4 separate regions of the Homo sapiens genome follow, and regions 1, 2 and 4 are each linked to region 3. The links are contacts of gene promoters, found by promoter capture Hi-C in human tissues and cell types (Jung and others, 2019). All regions are on one chromosome and are shown on one strand. The core of a region is centred on a gene start or on the middle of the fragment in contact, and the rest is flanking DNA. Distances in the headings are between cores, read along the strand shown.

The links. Contacts are between HindIII fragments. The study calls those that stand out against the background at their distance.
Region 1: a fragment that was not itself captured here is called in contact with the fragment with the promoter of NACA in region 3 in 3 of the 25 tissues and cell types used here (bladder, lymphoblastoid cells and mesenchymal stem cells).
Region 2: a fragment that was not itself captured here is called in contact with the fragment with the promoter of NACA in region 3 in 12 of the 25 tissues and cell types used here (H1 embryonic stem cells, IMR-90 fibroblasts, adrenal gland and 9 more).
Region 4: a contact is called between a fragment that was not itself captured here and the fragment with the promoter of NACA in region 3, in 3 of the 25 tissues and cell types used here (dorsolateral prefrontal cortex, lymphoblastoid cells and mesenchymal stem cells).

What each region holds. Positions count from the first base shown.
Region 1 is chr12:57,035,217-57,038,251 of GRCh38, forward strand. It overlaps MYO1A (myosin IA), which reads right to left. Exons shown (of 28, transcript NM_005379.4): 18 at 2,653-2,853; 19 at 2,332-2,425; 20 at 1,726-1,875; 21 at 1,556-1,624; 22 at 1,091-1,165. Among named protein-coding and RNA genes, the nearest start is that of MYO1A, 13 kb to the right of the region's middle. The HindIII fragment of the contact is 4,199 bases long and covers 1-3,035 here.
Region 2 is chr12:56,986,749-56,989,926 of GRCh38, forward strand. The region is part of intron 2 of LOC124902945 (a long non-coding RNA gene); the gene reads right to left. Among named protein-coding and RNA genes, the nearest start is that of ACKR5, 6.2 kb to the right of the region's middle. The HindIII fragment of the contact is 5,723 bases long and covers 1-3,178 here.
Region 3 is chr12:56,724,035-56,727,252 of GRCh38, forward strand. NACA (nascent polypeptide associated complex subunit alpha) reads right to left here and starts at 1,265. Exons shown (of 9, transcript NM_001365896.1): 1 at 1,229-1,265; 2 at 418-489. The coding sequence starts at 487. RefSeq lists enhancers at 1-11, 1,071-1,120, 1,211-1,340. The HindIII fragment of the contact is 10,398 bases long and covers 1,072-3,218 here.
Region 4 is chr12:57,169,319-57,172,714 of GRCh38, forward strand. The region is part of intron 20 of LRP1 (LDL receptor related protein 1); the gene reads left to right. Among named protein-coding and RNA genes, the nearest start is that of LRP1-AS, 23 kb to the left of the region's middle. The HindIII fragment of the contact is 3,835 bases long and covers 115-3,396 here.

The DNA of each region.
Region 1 (3,035 bases), core at 388-2,887, 310 kb after region 3:
ATAACAGCAAAATCAGATTACAGGTCTCAGGTGTGTAGCAAGAAGCATGTATGGTGGGAAGGCAGACACTCTGGCACCAGCACAAGAGGTGATCAGGCAACTGAAGAGACCTGGAAGATGGAACTTCCCTGGGAAGGGGAAGAGGACGAGCAAATGAAGGCTCAGGAAGGCAAAAAAGAGGTCCAGAGCTTCAGAGCCCCCATTCCTCTCTTGAGCTGAGGGATCCAGACTCTCAAACAACAAAGAGGGGCTGCAAGCAAACATGTCTTATGTCTGAATGAGCACAGTCAGGGTCCTAACTATGGTCAAAAACCCAATCAGCGGAGGTCAATTACCAATTTGCTCCAGCCTCTGTCCAAGATCCCATGCTCTTCCTCCTTCTCTCTGGCCTTTCCCAAGGTTTCATTGGAAGTGCTTCTCCCTCCCTGGTTTCCTCCCTGACACTTCTCAGAAGCACTATTGCTATCTGACTGAAGTCTCCAGAAGTTACTCTTCTCTGTCCCTGTTTTTCTCCCCCTGGGAGCTGTCTGTAAGTTTGAATATGTAGGCCTTCCAGGTGGGTCTTCCCATCCAGCCTGACCCACGTCCTCCAGAATTAGGATAGGTCCTTCCTGAGATTTACTTTCTGACTTGCTGACAATAGTTTCAGAGGAAGTAGAAGGAAGATACAATTCGCCTACTCTCACCCCAACCCTAAAATGGATCTTGGGAGGTTGAGCTAGTTAATGTGTGGATCACTCTACTCTTCAATGAGGCTTAGCCTCTTCAACAGTTGTTAAACATCCAGCCCCAGGATCTTCACAAGGCTATTTGACCATAGACCAGATGGTGGGTGTGCTGAGACCCCTTCCTGCCACAAGGTTGCCTGGATTGTCCACTCATGCCAAAATGCTATCTGATTCTGCCCCCGAGTCCAAGGCACTGGGGCCTGGTCCCTGCAGGTAGCTGCCCTCTTCTCCTAGGACTTAAGTACATGCAGACTGAGGAAACTCTTGGGGGAAAGCTTTGGGTTGCCTCTTCTCAAACCCCTCTCCCAAACCTGTGCCTCCCTGCTCCATCCCTAACATCCACCCTAACCCCTACCACTTACCATGCTCTTGTAGATGAAATCTGCCAAGGTGAGGGCAGCCTCTGACCGGAAATATTTGCGATAATTCTTTCGGGCCTGGCAGAAAAGTACAAGAAAGGAGCCAAAGTGAAGATAGGCAGATTCTAGAAGAGGTTGTACTATTTTTCAACCACGCAAAGACCTGAGTAAGATAAAGAGCTGAGACTGTAGCTGGAAGTTGGAAGTAAAATCAGACAAGTTGGCAGTGAGGACACTTAGAGCAGAAGGCAAAGTTCTGCTGCCAAGTTAGGCATCTACCCACCCAGACACCTCTACAGGTCTCCCCTACAGGCCTCTCACTCCCAGACACCCACCCACACATGGACCGGCTGATACACAGAGGTGCGGCCTGGGTGCAGGCAGGACTAGCTCTCTGCTGCTCTAGCCAGCAGGTGACACAATCCAGGAGAAACAATGTGAGGAAACCTCTCTTCCACTCTCCATTACCTTCCACCCTCTCACAAAAGCCTGGATCAATAACACGGATGCCTTTATCTTCCCATAGCATTTCTTTTGCTGTAGAAAACATAGGAGTTGTTAGAAAAATGGCACCTCCTGAGCCACCTTCCATCTTCCCTATTAGAGTGAACAGAGTGGGACTTTGGGGATGACCGTACCATGTTTCCCCGAAACCAAGAGGAGATGAGGATCTGACTCTTTCGCATCAGTTGGTAGTGGGTGCGGCAGCGCCAGCCTCGGTAAATCTTCTGTATGAGTGTGGCCAGCTGCTGGAGTCTCAGGCGCCTCTGTTCTTCGAGGTAGAAAAGCTGTGGAGAGGTGGAAGGGGGTGACAGAGAGACTGGCTCAGGGGAACAGTGCTGTCCTCTCCTATACCCCACAGTACTGAGGCTTCCCAGCCAGGCCTTATTTGATCATTCCTTTGTCTTCTTAGTTTGCTCATTTATTCATTCAGTAAACAAGTATCTACTTAACTCTAACTTTGTAGCAGGCAGTAAGCTAGAAGTTGATCACCCCAACCCTCAAGGGCTCTGCCTCAGGCAAAGGCACTTAGAGCCATGCAGCACCAAGCTCCCCAGGCTCAGGGCAGTGTAGGAACCCAAGAGTTCAATTCCCAGGGATACGGTTCCTGCAGACAGGAAGCTTCCCATCCACTGGACAGTGATCCATTCCAGGTTATACACGCTCCCTCCCCCTCCAGCCTTTCTCAGGTGGGCTCTTCCACCTTCTACCCTCACCAAATGCTAATGCACTCTCTAACTCACAGTCTTGGGGCTTCTAATGAAGATCTTTGTCTTGCCAAAGGCCAGCTCCCCCGAGGACATGCTCAGCTCCCCCAGGACCTTCTCAACACCTTCCCTATGGAAGCAAATGACAGAAAGCTGCAGAGGGGTATCTCAGGAGAAAGTCCTCTTCCACCTTTCCCCTAATCCTTTCAGCCTCCAAGAAGTGATCATTCAATTCATTTCTCAAAGTATCCATTCACCCAGCTTCAGCAGATGTGCACTGCACCTCCAGGTCTCTTCCCCCAGAGATGTTTCCTGCACTGCCCTTTCCTGATGCCCAGTCTCCCCATGGGGTCTTACCGGTCTCCCCCATTCCAGTGAGGCCAGGTGCTCCGGCTCAGCAATCGGTACCTTTCCAGGAAGGGCCCATAACCCTGGCGGTGGGCATAGCCTGCCCGTCGCACCCGTACGTTCTCCAGCAGTCCCAGGTACCGAGCCTGGGTTGCCACCAGGTCTGAAGAGAACTGACCTCGCTGCTGATGCTCATTGGGCTTTATGCACCTGGTGGGAGGTGGGGTAAGGCACAGCCTTCAGGAGCTGACATCATTGCCAGTGTAACCCATCATATTCCCCTATGCTGCACACGGTGCACTTCACTGAAAAGTTTCAAAGAAAGTAGACACACTGGCCTCCCCAGTTTCACTCACTTCTATGTATTCCCTATCGAATCTGATGCTCTCCCC
Region 2 (3,178 bases), core at 460-2,959, 260 kb after region 3:
ACACAAGAACGGCCTAACACACATTGTATACCAACACTCCTGGACCATGGTCTCCCAGAAAACAGACTTTACTGGGAAGCTACACATGGTTTCCAGGCACATTCAGTGGAAATCCTGCTCTGAGCCTGAGTTTCCTCATCCCACCCAGCATCCAGAATCAATCACTCCCCAGAAAAGTAGGGCACGATCAGGCTCTCTAGGATGAGAAGGAGAAGGCAAAAAAGTGAACAAGAGCAAGTCCCCTCCTGCTACAGTAGTTTTCTGGGGCAGAAAGATGTGGAACACCCACAGGGAGAGTCCAACCTCACAGGTAAAGAAAGGGGAAAGAAGGGAATGGAGCCTTGGAACCCACAGGAAGGAAGTACCCAGGGCTGCTGGGAAGGGGAATGGAATGACTTATGCAGGTGTCACAGGGCTCACCTGCTCACCTCCTGATATGCCCTGGGTGCTGGCTCCACTGCCCTCTGCCCTCCCCTGTCAGGGCCCACATCCAGGATCTGGACCCCTCAGACACTGAGAGGCTAAAAACATTGCTCATTTGAACAAGGACAATGAGGATGGTGGTCCAAAACCTTGCCCAAGCAGGGAAGGATATGAACCCTAGTAACTGTAAAGGTATTACTTCAGTTTGTATCAGGGTGTTGATGGACAGGAGGGATCTCCTTCTCAGGAGACTACAGAAAGGGGTACAGACTGGACCTCTGCTGTCCATGGAGGGTCCCTCGGTGTGAGGTCGAGGAAACTATTTCATAACTGGTGGGCAGGATGTAGAGGGGCAGGGAGCTGGGGGAGTAGGTGTGGGACAGAATAATCCAGGGTTTATTTGCACTGGGCCTCTCTCCCACTGTCCATGTTTGCCCAATTTCTGTCCCCTAATTGAAGGAAGAAGTGGAGATGGACTGGGAGGGGGAAGGAGAGGTTTCCTGCAGAAACCAGAGGCTAGCAAAGAGCCGCGCGCCCCCTGGTGGTTCTTCTCTAGCCCTGCAGTCACGACGTGGGCATCGGCCTGGGATCAGCCAAGGCTCTTCAGCTCATCCCAATGGCCACTCTCTCCAGCATCGGGGAGCCCCCATATCTCCCTGCACGGATCCTCCAAGAAGGAGGGAAACAGCAAGACTGCTGGCTGGTAAGAGACTGGACTACTGTTAATTAAGCAACATGGATGGTGCCTTGAGTGTGCTGCATACTAGAGGTTTGACAGACTCGGAGCCCCTTGAGGGCTCCGAGACTGAGTCCAGTCATTTTTGTATTTCCAGCCCCGGCAGTGCTAGCTTCTAGCAGAGATGAAGGAATGTTGAGGTAGCTGACACTGCAACATCTGGCTTCGCTTTCCATTTTCATCACTATTTCTTACATCATGCGACAATATGAGATTTCCTAAAGCCTCCATTTTTCTCATCTTTATAACGAGGGAGGAGAATCAAGATGACTTTGTCAAGTCCTCCCATCTCCAATTTCAGGGAGTCTAAGAATCCATATGCCTTTATTAAAATGGTGAAAACTTAGAAAGATGGGGTCTTGGGAAGCACTGGAGAATTTCTGACCAGCATACATTAGGTGCTCAACAAAAGTTAACAGAAACGGAAGAAATCTGGAACCAACAAGAGACTTACCACATCTACAGAGAGGCTGGGGGAGGGGTGCAGATCAGGAGATGGGAGAGTGAGGGAGAAACAGAAGCTGGGAGAGATAGGAGACCAAAGGAAGGGGGAAGGGTGGCGGCATGCGGGGAGGCTGCTAGTGCTGTAGGCGGCAGAGGGATATTAATAGTACCTGGGGCCCTTCCAGTCTCTTATCAGTCTTTTCAAGCTTCCTCTTCCTTAGACTGATGTCACACCCTCCCTTCTCACACTTGGGAAATCACAGAGGAAACAGTTGTCCTTCATCTAGTGAAAGATAGGGAATGGGAAGCAAAGACATTCACTTTCCCCTTTTCAAATCCCTCCGAGATCATCCTACAAATCCCTCAGCCTTCATGAAGGAGACACCTCCTTCCTCATGCAAGAAATTTCCTAGAATTCCCAGGGCTGAGTCAGCTCCACACAAGTGGATACCCAACATTGCTGTTTTTATCCTGACCCCAGTCTAGCAGAAGCTCTCCAAGGGTCATTTTTTTTTAAAGCTTTTGGACATCATGGGCCCCTTCGAGAATCTAAGGAAGGTTATAAGCCCCCCACATAACACAACAATCAAAAACTTGCTTATACTTTTCATACAGTTCACACCTAAAACCATTAGCTGCATGGAATCCAGCTCAAGAATCCTTGTAATATGGGCTTATTGACCTACTAGCTGTGTGACTGGGGCAAGTTATTTAAAGTTTCTGTGCTTCAGTTTCCTTGTCGATGGTAGTACCCACTCCATGAAGTTGTTATGAGGATTAAATGAGGTGATATGGATAAAGCCCCTTACAACTGTGTCTAGCCAATGGTGCGTATTCAATAAACATCAGCTGTTACTATTACTACATTTCTCTGTGGTAATTCATAGTGACATTTGGGAATGTTCCCACCCTTCTATGTAAAAAACACAACCCAAGACAGCCAAATAAAAGAGGAGGCTCATGTTGATCTAATTCAGAGAGGAAAAAAATGGCTGGTGGTAATAGGACTAGAGAGGTCTCTCAGTGTCAATTCCACAAGATGGGATTCCTTTTTCCTTATCCCCATGAAGTGGAAAAGGAGCATGCTTGTATATATTATCTCATGTATCCCATATAATAACCTGTAAGGGAAGCATCATTATCCTCACTTTACATATTAAGAAACTGACATTAAACTCCTATCTCTCACCAGACACAAAAATCAACTCAAGATGGATTAAAGACTTACATATAAGACCCAAAACTATTATTAAATTATTAGAAGAAAATCTAGTATTGCAGGAAAAATCTACTATCTAGTATAAGGAAAAGTCTCCTGGACATTGGACTAGGCAAAGAATTTATGACTAAGATCTCAGAAGCACAGGCAACAAAAACAAAAATAAACAACTGGGACTTAACTAAACTAAAAAGCTCTGCACAACAAAAGAAATAAGCAACAGAATGAACAACCCGCAGAACTGGAGAAAATATTTGTAAACTATTCATCTGACAGGGGAGATATCCAAAATATACAAAGAACTCGAGCAAGAAAAAAAAAAACCCCACAAATAATCCCACTAAAATGTGGGCAAA
Region 3 (3,218 bases), core at 15-2,514:
CACAATGCCAAGCTCTGCTAACTAAAACCTTGATGCAACTTGCTGGCTGGAGTTTCACAAATGCTCCGGGCTCCTTGGCCTGTGTCATCTAGTTCCAATAGGTAAGAATCACTGAGCCCATTCCCTGCTGAGTTTTCCTATGTGAGGTGGGGGTTCCACAGGAGAGCTTCTTTTGAGGCGACAGGCATAACATAGAAAGCAAGCTAGGGTACTTTTAACGTCCACGAATCTTAAAAATATTATTTTTACTCCAAATCCCTAAAGAAGTATCTCCAGGATAGTAATTTTACGGTCTATCCTCCTTGGTAAAGCTGCAACCCCATCCTCCTAAAAAGTGTATTTCCCCTTGGTCATTTTGCCCACCAAATGGCTTTAGGGTTAATTTTAATTAATGGCAAGGAGGGTAGGGAAACCTACCTGTCTCAGCCTGGGGCTGCGGCAACTCCTGCTCTGTAGCAGGGACGGTTTCTGTGGCTTCGCCGGGCATTTCTGAAGGAAGGGAATAAAAAGGAGGCCTAAATTGATTGGGATACATTCACTTGCCCAACCCGGAGATAAGTATTCTTAAAAACTCCGAGGAGGGCTGTTAGAAAAAAATCGTGAGGGTGTTTGGTGACAACCTTCCCCAAAGCACCTGGGAATAAGAGGTAAATATGATGTGACCCTCACGCCTCTATCAAGGCCAGCAATTCCCACTGCATTCTCAACCCGAGGGAGAGGATCCCGGGCTGGCTCTCGATCATGGGAGACTTCAGACGCTACTGTGAACCCCCTCCACTCCTAATACTCACACTGGCTGGGCTGGGGCCTCCTGGACTACGTTTGCCGACTTTGGGGTACCAGGAGGGGAAAGACGGTGTTTTAAGTCCAACACTTGCTTGTCACAGGGAGAACGGTGTTACAGGTTCTAAGGCTGTGACCCCTTACCCTTTTCTGGATCCTGTGAAGCAGTTCCCAAAACAAGACGCACTCCTCTTCCGCCCTCAACACTGCAACTGCTCCCATCTCTGCAGGCTCGGATTCTGGGCCCGCCCCGCAGCCCTTCTACCCTGCTTTTGCCAGGACACCAACCGCAGACCCCATTTTGTCCGGAGGCCCAGGGGCGAGTAGGAACCCTGTGGCCCAGTAAAGCCTCCAACTCTCCTTAACTCTCAGTCCCCGGGGCGGCTTAGCCCGAAAGAAAGGCGGATGGCTGCGGATAGACAGTAGCGGCACAGAAAGTACTTACTGTGCAGGGAACGCGGAACCAAGATGGCGGCAGAAAGACCGAGCGAGAGCGTGACCCACGCCTGTTGCAGAAGGAAGCCTGGAGCGGAGGGGGTGGGACTAGGATCCGATTCCGGGTCAAGAGCTGCCGGCAGCCACTTCCTTTGACGAGTGACTGTCAGGCCGTTCCCACGGCGGGGGTGGTGACAAGGACTAAAGGGTAAGAATTTAGAACGGGACGCGCAGGCCTAGCAGGAGCTCTCTGCGCGGACCCACGCAGTCCTCAGAACTAAGCAGACTCCGCCCTCCGGTCCGCGAAGTGGCGACTGCGGTATTAAGTCGACCTCGCGATTTCTCAAATAGTGCAGGAAGAAGACATTAAATAGCGAATGCTAGAGACTGCATTCACAACATTGGAGGGTGGAAGTGACTTAGGCTAACCAGTTATTTTTGGAACACACGATGTGAAAACATTTAAAAGCTGCTGGACCCTCTCCCCCCCCATCAACAACAACAAAAAAACCCATTTTAAAACTTGAGAGATGTGATGGGTCACATATAACTTCAGTTCAGATTATAAATTTAATTCGATTTTTCTTGTTCTGTTCAATGACTAGAGAGACTCAAACGATGTCACCAGATGACAGCAACTCATGCGTGTTAAACTCTTCGTAAAACAATGTTAGCTGTACCCCCGCCCCCCCCCCAAAAAAAACACTTCTTGTAACCAAATTCTGTAATTATGTTCCAACCTTGTATGGATAACGTAATCCAGCTAAAAACTCCTCTGTCTCCCTAAATAAATGAAATCGTAACTTCTCTACTTCTGAAGGCTGACTCCATTCTTTGGAGGTTTTCTGGTTGGTCCATCCTCACACTGCCCTTGAATAAACTCTTTAAATAGATTCCGGCCCTTTTGATTGTTTTAGGTTCACGACAATTTAGCCGATGTTGAAATTATAAAGCTGCAGATTCTCCTTCCCAGAAAAAAAGAACATAGGCACATATACAATTCCTTTGCTTGCTATTTTGGGCACTTCTTGGATTTTTTTTTTTTTTTTTTTGAGTCGCTCTGTCGGCCAGGCTAGAGTGCAGTGGCACGATCTCGGCTCACTGCAATCTCCGCCTCCAGGGCTCAAGCAGTTGTCCCGCCTCAGCCTCCCGAGTAGCTGGGATTACAGGTGTGTGCCACCACCCCCGGCTAATTTTTTATTTTTAGTAGAGACGGGTTTCACCATGTTGGCCAGGCTGGTCTTGAACTCCTGACCTCAGGTAATCCGCCTGCCTCGGCCTCCCAAACTACTGGGATTACAGGCGTGAGCCACCATGCCCAGCCTGTTTGTTTTGTTTTTGGGACAGTCTCACTTTTATTGCCCAGGCTGGGGTGCAAAGGCACGATCTCGGCTCACTGCAACCTCCCCTTCCCGGGTCAAGCGATTCTCCTGCCTCAGCCTCCCGGGTAGCTGGGATTACAGGCATGCGCCACCACGCCAGTCTATTTTTTGTATTTTTAGTAGAGACGGGCTTTCTCCATGTTGGCCAGGCTGGTCTCCTCCTGACTTCAGGTGATCCGCCTGCCTCGGCCTCCCAAAGTGCTGGGATTACAGGCGTGAACTACCGCCCCTGGCACTTCTTGGATATTCTAAGCTTATTTATTCTAGGTGTCTGGGACCCCACCTTAAACCATGCTTTGTACAACTGTATTTTTGAAAAGTAGAATGTAAAATCAGTGTTGTGTTAATGAAAAGCCTCCCATATCTTCCCACAGCCCTACAAAAGAACTCAACAAATATTTGCTGTACCTGAATTAGCTAAACCAGTCAACATTTATTTATTTTTTGAGGCGGAGTCTCGCTCTGTCGCCCAGGCTGGAGTGCAGTGGCGCGATCTCGGCTTACTGCAACCTCGGCCTCCCGGGTTCAAGCGATTCTCGTCTCAGCCTCCAGAGTAGCTGGGATTATAGGTACCCGCCTCCCCGCCCGGACTCCTGACCGTAGGTTATCCGCCTGCCT
Region 4 (3,396 bases), core at 782-3,281, 450 kb after region 3:
GGGCCCGTGGGGTGGGGATGAGATCGAGCCCCCTGCATCAGACACCCAGCCTATCCATCTGTCTTTCAGACCCACGGTGTGTCGGCCACCATCTGGGAGCCAGAGGTAGCCTAGGCATGGCTCTTGTCCTTCAGGAGCTCCCGGTCCTGTGGGAGAGGGAGGTTGCCGAAAAATCATTGCCACACGCTGTTAATATCATGCGCTTTGCAGTTGGTGGCCTTGGGTTTGAGCTCCAGCTCTGCAGCTTATTATCTGGGTGGCCTTGAGCAAGTTACTTAATCTCCATGGGCCTCTGTGAGTTTCGTCTGCAAAGTGGGGTAATAATAGCACCAACATCACAGCGCTGATGTGGGAGTTTAGTGAGATCACGCACGAAAAGTGCTCAGCACACGGCCTGTGTTTGGTAAATAGTAGCTTGAGAAAAGGATGCTGCAGGCAGGGATGAATGAGCCTGAAGAGACAGAGGAGAGAGGGCCTGGCTCCACAAGGCTCCCAGTGCCCTGGCCTCTGGGGCCCAGCCTCGGGGGCGGTGGGGACCTAGTTTTCTGGAGGGATGGGCCCTCTCAAGGAATGCTGGCTTCCTAGCTCTGGAAGATGTGCAGATTTTTATGTGAAAACTACCAAATTTTTAACACTACAGTATTAGTTTCTCTCGTCTCACAGTTCTGGAGGCTGGAAGTCCCAGACCCAACTGTTGGCAGGGTGGGTTCCTTCTGAGGCCGTGTGGGAGATTCTGTCCCAGGCCTCTCCCCAGCCTCCGCGGTTTGCTGGCAATCTTTGCAGCTCCTTGGCTTGTCGAAGCTTGACCCGATCTCTGCCTTCATCTTCACACGGTGTCCTCCCTGTGGGCATGTCTGTCACCAGATCCCCATTTCCCCTTTCTGTGAGGACACCTGTCATATTGGATTAGGATACACCCTTATGACCTCATCTTAAGTTGACCATCTGCAAAGACACTATTTCCAAATAAAGTCATATTCACAGGTATTATGGGATAGGACTAATATCTTTTTAGGGAACACAATTCAAGCCATACCAACTGGCAGTTGATTTTAGAAGTTTTAAAAGGCTGGGTGCAGGCCAGGCATGGTGGCTCATGCCTATAATCCCAGCACTCTGGGAGGGTGAAGTGGGAGGATCACTTGAGGCCAGGGGTTCAAGACCAACCTGGTTAACATAGGGAGAACCCATCTTGAAAAAAGAAAAGAAAAAAAAAAAAGGCTGGGTGTGTTGACTCACACCTGTAATCCTATCACTTTGGGAGGCAAGGCAGGAGGATCACTTGTTTCCAGGAGTTTAAGACCAGCCTGGGCAACATAGTGAGACCCCTTTCTCTACAAAAAATAAACAAAATTAGCTGGGCATGGAGGCACATGCCTGTAGTCCCAGCTACTCAGAAGGCTGAGGTGAGAGGTTGAGCCCAGGAGGTTGAGGCTGCAGTGAGCTGTGAGCTCGCCACTGCACTCCAGCCTGGGTGACAGAATAAGACCTTGTCTCAAAAGAAAAAAAAAGTTTAAAAAAAACTACAGACCAAACTCTTCCTGCAGGCCTCATCTGACCCATGGACCACTAGATTACAGCCTCTGCCTTATAGAGTTAGGGCACATTCCCACCCTAGTAGGAGAAGACTGGACAGCGTTGAGTGCCCACCTTGAGCCCTGCCCTGAGAGGGAGGACAGAGAAGGCCACAGGAAGCTTGGGAAATAGTAATTGCGTCTCCAGGGCTATCTCTGTGAAGGGGAGGGTGAGGGGCACAGGTGATATCCCTTAGGGTTCTGAGAAGGGGCCTCTGGAGGCTGTGTGGTGTGGTGAGAAGAGCTCCCTGCCGCTCCCAGATAAGCTGGGCAAATTTGGACAAGTTGCTTCCCCTGAGCCTGGGCATCCTCCTTTATGAAATGAGCTGAGGTATGTGAGGCCTGGCGTGGAGGAGCAGGGTGTCACTATTGGTAGCAGTTGTTAACTATGGTATGAGCTGGATGGTCTGGGACCATTCAGGAGGAGTTGTGTTTAGACTGCAGGTAAATGGACAGGAGGGAGGGTCTTCCAGTGGGGATGGCATGGTCCGGAGAATGCTGTCGTCAAGACTTAGAGGGTGAAACTGAGCACTTCCGTAGGGTGACAGTGGGGCCAGGTGGAGCCGTTCAGACCGAGGGAAAGGCTCGTGCAGGGACAGTGGGGAATGAGGCTGTCCTCAAAGGGGGCAGATGATGACAGCAGGTGTAAATCGTGAGAGGCTTGATTTGGGAGGCACTGGGAACCTTTGAAGGATTTCCAAGCCGGAAGGTGCTGTGATGTAGGAGGTGATTTCGGAACACAGCCCTAGAGGAAGATTAGATTGAGAAGAGGTTCAGGGGCCCCAAGAAAGGAAAATCAGTTCAGAGACTGCTGCTGAAAGTCCCGGCATGAGATGAGAGCATCAGCTGGGTCCAGGGTAGGGAAGGGGGAGGAGCGGGGTGTCTGTGGCAGCATGAGTGTATGAGTGTGGGGCTCCACCAGGCAGTGCTCCTGCTCCTCTCCTGGCCTCCTGAGTCAGATCTCAGGACAGCAGCCAGAGTGATCCTGACAACATAAGTCAGATCATGCCCTGGCCCTGCCCTCCAGCCTGTACTGGCTCCCTGCACCCTTGGAACAAATGCCAAGCCCCTCTGCACGGCCTGCAGGGCCCCCACCCCTACCCCTCTGACCTGCATTCCTGCCCTCCCCTCCCCCTGCACTCTACTCCAGCTGTGGCGTTTTCTTTTTTCTTTTTTTTTTTTTTTGAGATGGAGTCTCCCTCTGTCGCTCAGGCTGGAGTACAGTGGCGTGATCTCGGCTCACTGCAAGCTCTGCCTCCCGGGCAGCTGTGGCGTTTTCTTTTCTTTCTTTTTTTTTTGAGATGGAGTCTCTCTGTCGCCCAGGCTGGAGTGCAGTGGCGCAATCTCAGCTCACTGCAAGCTCCGCCTCCCAGTTCACGCCATTCTCCTGCCTCAGCCTCCCAAGTAGCTGGGACTACAGGTGCCTGCCACCACGCCTGGCTAATTTTTTGTATTTTTAGTAGAGACAGGGTTTCACCATGTTAGCCAGGATGGTCTCGATCTCCCGACCTCGTGATCCGCCCGCCTTGGCATCCCAAAGTGCTGGGATTACAGGCGTGAGCCACCGCGCCTGGCCTGTGTGCTGTTTTCTGAAGTGCTGGCGTAGTCCTATCTCGGAGATGAGACTTTGCAGCGGCTGTTCCCCTTGCCTGGAGTGTGCCTCCAGGGATCCTCTGGGCTCACTCGCTCTTCATGCAGGCCTCTGCTCAGATTCCTTCTGCCCAGAGGTCTTCCCTGACCATCTTACCTGACAGATCACCCCCATCCCTCTCAGCTTCTACCCAGCTTTATCTCCATAGCTTTATCAATACCTGAAATTACA